Regions from separate parts of the Homo sapiens genome. Here region 1 is linked to region 2. Evidence: promoter capture Hi-C in 16 types of primary human blood cells and fetal thymus (Javierre and others, 2016). All regions are on one chromosome and are shown on one strand. Each heading gives the region's core, a stretch centred on a gene start or on the middle of the fragment in contact. The rest is flanking DNA. Distances are from core to core; before and after follow the strand shown. Region 1 has its middle 18 kb from the start of GBGT1. Region 2 holds the start of CACFD1 (calcium channel flower domain containing 1).

The links. The method cuts DNA at HindIII sites, captures the fragments that hold promoters and counts their contacts. A CHiCAGO score of 5 or more calls a contact.
Region 1: a fragment that was not itself captured here is called in contact with the fragment with the promoter of CACFD1 in region 2 in 1 of 17 cell types (M1 macrophages); the score reaches 5.5 in M1 macrophages.

What each region holds. Positions count from the first base shown.
Region 1 is chr9:133,179,922-133,183,772 of GRCh38, forward strand. No RefSeq gene overlaps it. Among named protein-coding and RNA genes, the nearest start is that of GBGT1, 18 kb to the left of the region's middle. The HindIII fragment of the contact is 1,175 bases long and covers 695-1,869 here.
Region 2 is chr9:133,457,953-133,461,549 of GRCh38, forward strand. CACFD1 (calcium channel flower domain containing 1) reads left to right here and starts at 2,026. Exons shown (of 5, transcript NM_017586.5): 1 at 2,026-2,235. The coding sequence starts at 2,115. ADAMTS13 (ADAM metallopeptidase with thrombospondin type 1 motif 13) reads left to right here. Exons shown (of 29, transcript NM_139027.6): 28 at 1-142; 29 at 1,022-1,434. The coding sequence ends at 1,228. RefSeq lists silencers at 1,622-1,841, 1,852-1,951, 2,242-2,541. The HindIII fragment of the contact is 16,509 bases long and covers 1-3,597 here.

The DNA of each region.
Region 1 (3,851 bases), core at 32-2,531, 280 kb before region 2:
GGTTTATGGTAGATAGAGTAGCCCCCATATCCCCGAGGACTGTACACAACTCCCCATTTATTTTAACCTGTTTCTCCACGTTGATTTAAAGGCACGGAGAGCAATCTACTGGAGAATCCCTTGGAACCTCATCAAGGTTGATTATTATCAGGAGGCCTAAGGTCTCTTGGGCTCCCTCTAGTGGTGAAACAGTTTGGCCGAAAGGGAGGCTCATTGGTGGACTGATAGAAAAGCGGACAATCCCTTTTCCAGTGCCCTGGTTGTTTGCAATACAGGCAGACATCTTGGGGCAAAGAACTTCTTGTTCTAGGACCTCCTGATTGTGATTTAAAATGAGAAGGAGGCAGAGCGCAGTGGCTCACGCCTGTAATCCCAGCAATTTGGGAGGCCAAGGCGGGCGGATCTTTTGAGGTCAGGAGTTCGAGACCAGCCTGGCCAACATGGTGAAAAGCTGTCTCTACTAAAAATGCAAAAATTAGCCGGGCACGGTGGCACGCACCTGTAATCCCAGCTACCTGGGAGGCTGAGGCATGAGAATCGCTTGAACGTGGGAGGTGGAGGTTGCAGTGAGCCGAGATCTCACCACTGCACTCCAGCCTGGGTGACAGAGTGAAACTCCGTCTCTAAATAAATACATAAAATGATTAATCCCTTGGGTCCCGGTCCCTGTAACTGTTATAGCTGAAGGGCCATAAGCTTGTTAGCCTTTTGAGTTTTTTCTTGCTCTAGAGTCCTCTCAAAATGTCCAGCTAAGGCCAACAATTTAGTCATATCTGTAACTTCCTATCCCAACTCATGTATTTTAATTAAATTGCTGAGTTCGGGATGGAGTCCATTTACAAATAGAGCACTTAATGCCGTTTCAGTCCTTGCAGGAAATACTTCTTGTTGTACTTGGATCCCAGAATGTTTCACAAACAGCATTTCTAAGTGAGTTCTGTAATCTGAAACTGAAATCTTTTTTTTTGTTATGTTTACAAGATTGTATGATGGACCAGTCCATTTTTTGCGGAAAAATTTTAGGAATTGAATTTAAAAGGTTTTCAGCAATTTTTCCAGCGACTTTTGGTCCTTCTTGTGAGGAGCTTTTGGAGGGGTCTTTAACATCCTCCTCAGGTTTGCCCCATTCTGCTGCTGCCGTCCATTTCCGAGCTTTACCAGGCCCCAATATCACGGGAATACATTAGTGAAGGTCAGGAAGTCCTGGATCATAAGCTCCTATGAGGATTCTAAATTCCTCAGTAAATTTTTGAGGATTTTCTCTTGGATCAGGCAAGTCCCTCACAATGGCTCTAAGCTCAGTTTTAGACCATGGAGTGAAAGTAGTTACAGCAGGCAGGCATGACTGATCAGAAAGTCTCACTTTGTAAGGTGCCTGTCTAACTTATTATTATTTTTTTAATCGTCTTCAGGGTGAAAGGGTAATATATACATATTTTTTATTTTTTATTTTTTTGAGACAGGGTCTCACTCTGTCACCCAAGCTGGAGTGCAGTGGTATGATCTCGGCTCACTGCAACCTCTGCCTCCTGGGTTCAAGCAATTCTCCTGCCTCAGCCTCCCGAGTGGCTGGGATTACAGGCACGCAGCACCACGCCCAGCTAATTTTGTATTTTTAGTAGAGACGAGGTTTCACCATATTGGCCAGGCTGGTCTCAAACTCCTGATCTCAGGTGATCCACCCACCTCGGCCTCCCAAAGTGCTGGGATTATAGGCATGAGCCACCAAGCCTGGCCTGAAAGGGTAATTTAGCAAAAAGGTTAGTGGACTCAGAGTATGTAGGTAGAGAAGGATAAAGAGAAGGAACAGTCAGGATGAGGTCAGTCACAGTACAGTCCTCTTTCATCATGTCGTTAGTTTGTTGCTTAAGCTTTTCGTTTGCTTTTTGCAAAGAATCTTTTAAGGAGTCAATTTTTGATTCATTTACTCTTTTAGGGGCTTCTGCATACCAATAAAAGAATACACATCCCACTGTTTTATGGGGTTTTTCATTCCCCCTTTTCTAATATGCCTCATAAATAAACAATTTTATCCAAATTAAAACTTCCCCATTGCAGCCATCTTAATTCTAAGTTTTCTTTAGTTAGGTTAACCCATTTTTCTAAAAATGCACAAGTTCTGGGCCCATAATTTTTATGCATAAAATTAGCTGGAGTCCCAGAATGTGGAGTCCCAGACTCCTTGGATTGAGAGGGTTGCATCTGAGCTGGTTCCAGCCTTGGAGTAGGGGCTGCTGCTGGTCCCAGGCTCCATGCTGGGGGCCTGGTGGCCAGATGGAAGGTTCAGCTTTGCAGCGGTCACACCTGCTGGGTGAATGGGTGTTCTAAGGGTGCTCGTTGGCACAGGTGGCTGTGACTCATATCTGGGAAAGTGTGAGGGAAGCGCACAGAGGGCAGCCGTCCCTTTGGTGTCAGGGCTCCGTCCCCATGGGCAGTGCTCCTTGGAAAAAGTCAGCTACTCCTTTGGATCCTGGGGAGCAAAAGGCACCTAAGGCAGTGAGTAGTCCACAGAGGCCAGGTCAGCCTGGTGACCAGGAGGTGTCCTGCCCAGCAGCAGGACAGGTTCTGTGTGAAACTGGAATCTGGAGGTGGCCTGGGCTGACAGGTGGGTGGAGGGTGTCTGGATGGCTTTGTCCACTCCCGTCTGTAAGTGCTTAGCCACTCTGCAGGTGAGACCCTAGGAAGGGAAGCCCTGGTTGGTGCCAGGGGTTGATTAGAAGATGCCCTTGCAGGCATGGTGGCTCATGCTTGTAATCCCAGCACTGTGGGAGGCTGAGGCAGAAGGACTGCTTGAGCTCAGGAGTTCAAGACCAGCTTGGGCAAGATGGTGAAACCCTGTCTCTATAAAAAATTTAAAAAATTAGCATGTGCTTGTGGTCCCAGCTACTTGAGAGGCTGAGGTGGCAGGATAGCTTGAGTCCATGAGATCAAGGCTGCAGTGAGCCAAGATGGCACCACTGTACTCCAGCCTGGGTCACAGAGTGAGACCCTGTCGTAAAGCAAACAAACAAACAAACAAACAAAAAACCCCCCCAACCCCATAAAGTTAGCAGATGGAAGGAAATAATAAAGATTAGAGCAGAGATAAATGGGATAGAGGAGAGAGGAGCACTAGAGGAAATCAGTGAAAACATGTTCCTTCCATGAAAGGTTAACAAAATTGAGAAACCTTTAGCTAGTTGACTAAGAAAAAAAGAGATAAGACTCAAATTACTAAAATCAGAAATGACAGGGTGACATCACCAATGACCCCACGGAAATAAAAAGGATTTATAAAGAGAATGCTAGGAACAATTGTAGGCCAACTAGTTGGTTAACGTAAATGAAATGGACACATTCCTAGAAACATACAAACTACCACACCTGAGTCAAGAAATGGAAAATCTAAACAGACCTGTCAGAGTGAGGAGATTGAGTCAGTGATCAGAAACTTTCCCACAAAGAAAAGCCCAGAACCAGGTGACTTCACTGGCGTATCCTCCCAGACATTTAACATGTAACACCAATCCTTCTCAGACTTCTCAAAATCTTCAATATGATACACCGTCTCCCTAGAATGAAGGGAAAAACCCATCATCCCAATTCACGCAGAAAAAGCATTTGACAAAATCCAACACTGTCATGATAAGAGCACTCAATAAAAGAGAAATAGAAGGGAACTTCCTCAACAGGATTAAGAGTACTTACGAAAAACTCACACCTACTGTGACTCGGTGGTGAAAGGCTGAGAGCTCTCTGCCTCAGATGAAGAACGAGACAAGGATGCCTGCTTTCACCACTTCACTCCAACATCGTGATGGAAGTTTGACCAGAGCAATTAGGCAAGACAAAGAAATAAAGGCACTGAAATT
Region 2 (3,597 bases), core at 776-3,275:
CCCCTCGCTGAGTCCAGCCACGAGTAATGCAGGGGGCTGCCGGCTCTTCATTAATGTGGCTCCGCACGCACGGATTGCCATCCATGCCCTGGCCACCAACATGGGCGCTGGGACCGAGGGAGCCAATGCCAGCTACATCTTGGTGAGGCCCAGCATGGGGACTTGTGCTGTGATTCTGGACAGCTTTCCCTAGGGCGTGCAGGGCTAGGGGACCCCCTTCAGTTTATTTCAGACTAAAACCCTCAAAATCATTAGTGAAAGAATGGGAGAAGATAGCTTCCTCCACATATTCACCAAGAAATGTTTTTTGAGCTACCTACAAGAGTGAAATAGTGGCTCACAACTGTAATCCCAGCACTTTGGGAGGCCCAGGAGGGCAGATCACTCAAGGTCAGGAGTTCGAGACCAGCCTGGCCAACATGATGAAACCTTGTCTCTACTAAAAATAGAAAAAGTAGCCAGGCATGGTGGCGTGTGCCTGTAATCCCAGCTACTTGGGAGGCTGAGGCACAAGAATCACTTGAACCCGGGAGGTGGAGGTTGCACTAAGCCCAGATCGCACCACTGCACTCCAGCCTGGGCAACAGAGTGAGACTCTGTCTCAAAAAAAAAAAAAAAAAAAAAGCGAAATGGTAAAGAATGGTAAAGACCTTTCTGATGTAGACTGACAGCTAACCCAAGACTGAAGCATAATTTTACAGTCTGATATAACTTGGACAGAATAGCACCCTGCACCCTCCCCGAGGTTTCAAGTGTCCTGGGAGAACTGTGTTCTGCAGGGTATCAGCTTCCCCAGAGGAGGCAGCCTGGCCCCGCTCTGGCACCCTGACTGTGTGTCCTTGGGGAAGTGATGTAACGTCCCTGGACCTCGGTTTTCTGGGTAGAGTAATGGCGTATTCCTAGTAGGGCTTTGTAAGCATTAAATGTGATCCGGAATCTGTGAGCCCTTGCACACGAAGGCTTCCGTGAGTGCTAATTATTACTTGTGGCCGGTCCTTCTGGGCTGCCCCTTTTCTCTCAGATCCGGGACACCCACAGCTTGAGGACCACAGCGTTCCATGGGCAGCAGGTGCTCTACTGGGAGTCAGAGAGCAGCCAGGCTGAGATGGAGTTCAGCGAGGGCTTCCTGAAGGCTCAGGCCAGCCTGCGGGGCCAGTACTGGACCCTCCAATCATGGGTACCGGAGATGCAGGACCCTCAGTCCTGGAAGGGAAAGGAAGGAACCTGAGGGTCATTGAACATTTGTTCCGTGTCTGGCCAGCCCTGGAGGGTTGACCCCTGGTCTCAGTGCTTTCCAATTCGAACTTTTTCCAATCTTAGGTATCTACTTTAGAGTCTTCTCCAATGTCCAAAAGGCTAGGGGGTTGGAGGTGGGGACTCTGGAAAAGCAGCCCCCATTTCCTCGGGTACCAATAAATAAAACATGCAGGCTGACCGGCGTTTTTTTCTTATAAGCTGTCCAGACCTGGCTTGAAAACCCATCCCATGGCAAGGCAGGGATTCGCTGGCCGCGGTTGGCTCTATCTTGATCTGAGCAAGCCGCTGGACGTCCCTAGTTATCTTCTTCCTATCCAGGAAGAAAATCCAATCAGGATTCCACTCCGAGGATGGCGCATTAGCCAGCTCCCTGCGAAGCCCCACCCGTGTGTCCTGGTGTGAGGCTCTGACCGCTAAGGTGTCTGCGCGCCTCCAGGCCCCGCCCCCTATGCTAATAAGCGCCCGCCTCCTTTGGGAGCAAGTCGCCGCAAACTGCGAGCCCCCGCCCCCTACGCTAATGACGCCCGCCCCCCTCGGGCACACCTCTCCGATGCCTGCGAGCCCCGCCCCGTATGCTAACGAGCTCCCCACCCCCAGCTCCTCGCCGCAGCCTGCGGGTCCCGCCCCCTACAATAATGAGCACCTACCTCCCCTCAAACGCCCCTAGTCGCGGCATGAGGGTCCCGCTCACTATGTTAATGAGCACCCGCCTCCCTTCGGGCGCGCCTCGCCGCAGCCTGAAAGCCCCGCCCCCTATGCTAATATGCTCCCTCTCCCACAAGGCAGCGCGCCGGCTCGGACGCGGCCGGCTACCGAGCCCTTTGTGAGGGCTGTGAGCTGCGCCTGACGGTGGCACCATGAGCAGCTCAGGTGGGGCGCCCGGGGCGTCCGCCAGCTCTGCGCCGCCCGCGCAGGAAGAGGGCATGACGTGGTGGTACCGCTGGCTGTGTCGCCTGTCTGGGGTGCTGGGGGCAGTCTGTGAGTATCCAGTCGGGGAGAGGGGCCGGCCCCGCCGCGCATGCGCTCCTCGCCCTGCCCTGCCCCGCCCCGCCCCGGCGGCCCCAGGGGAAAGGACCCGCTGGGGGTCGGGGGTCTGCCGGGCGCCTCCCGGGGCGGAGGAATGGCGGGGCCGCCGGGAGCCGGCGTCCTGGGGTTGCCATGGTTACCCGCTCGGGCCTGGGCGCCTTGGTACCCCGGGCTGGGCTGGGCTGGCGCTTCTGGGAACATTCCCGGAGGGACCAGAAACCCCAGGGCGGGGGGGCGGCGGGGGCGGGGGTGGGGCACCGGCCTGGGGCACGTGACTGAGCCCTCCCCCCGCTCCCCAGGGGCTTTTGTGAGACTTTCTCGGTGATGCTCACGGGGCGCATGCCCACCTGGCCCGTACTAAAGCGTCAACTGTTGACTTGGGCGTAGGTGACGGCAGCCACATTGCTAACCTTTGGGCAAGGATTGTTTGTAAGGGAGGCGGGTGCACGGCTGGCTAGATTTCTGGCAGGAAGCCACTGGGCGGAAGTTTGCTGAGGGTCAGGTGGTGTCAGGGCACAGGTGGCCCCTGGGGCCGCGGGGCAGTGAGCTGAGGGCCCGGCCTCTCCCTGGGTCCTCTGTCCGCTCTCATATCTCCCCCGTTGCTGCTGCCTTAGCCGCCTGTCACCGGCCTTCCTCCCCTTCTCCGCACGCATCCCAGTCACAGACCCTGACCTTAGGCTGCCAGGGAAGCTAGGCTCTTAAGCACAGCCAGAAAAGGACAAAGAGGGAGGCAGGTCAGCTCCAGGAGTGAATGGAAGCCGTACAGCTGGCCTTCCAGGGAAAGACAAGTCTGTCTGAGTGATACCCTTTCCTTTCCTGTCTGCCCTCAATCTTGTGGATTACTGGAGTGGGCAAGGTCTTAGAGAATGTCTGTCGAGGATGTCTGCAGGTTTTAAACAGTGCCTGCCTGGCAGAGAGGGCTAGCTCTGGGCCTGGGCAGGGCAGGCCCCATCAGCAATCCTGCCAGAAGGACCACCTTTTCAGGGTCACCTTGGGTTCCACAGCCTTTCCAGGTGGGTAGAGGGTGGAGGGAGGTTGAGGCAGGAGGGTGCTGGGCTAGGAGTGTGCTGCCCTCGCTAGGCATGCCCTTATCCAGAGGCAACGGATACGGTAGGGCAGGCCCTACCCCCAAATCACAAAAAGGCCCCGAGTTTGTGTCACTGCTCTTCAGGGCAAGTACGCTTTTGACTTTGTAGGAGAGACTGGTGGGTTTGAAGTTAGGCATTGGATCCAGTCCTGTCATGTCTGGTTAGCTGTTTTCCCTGCAGATTAGGGTGGGCAGTGCAGTGGGGTGACATGGTCAGTGGTGAGAAA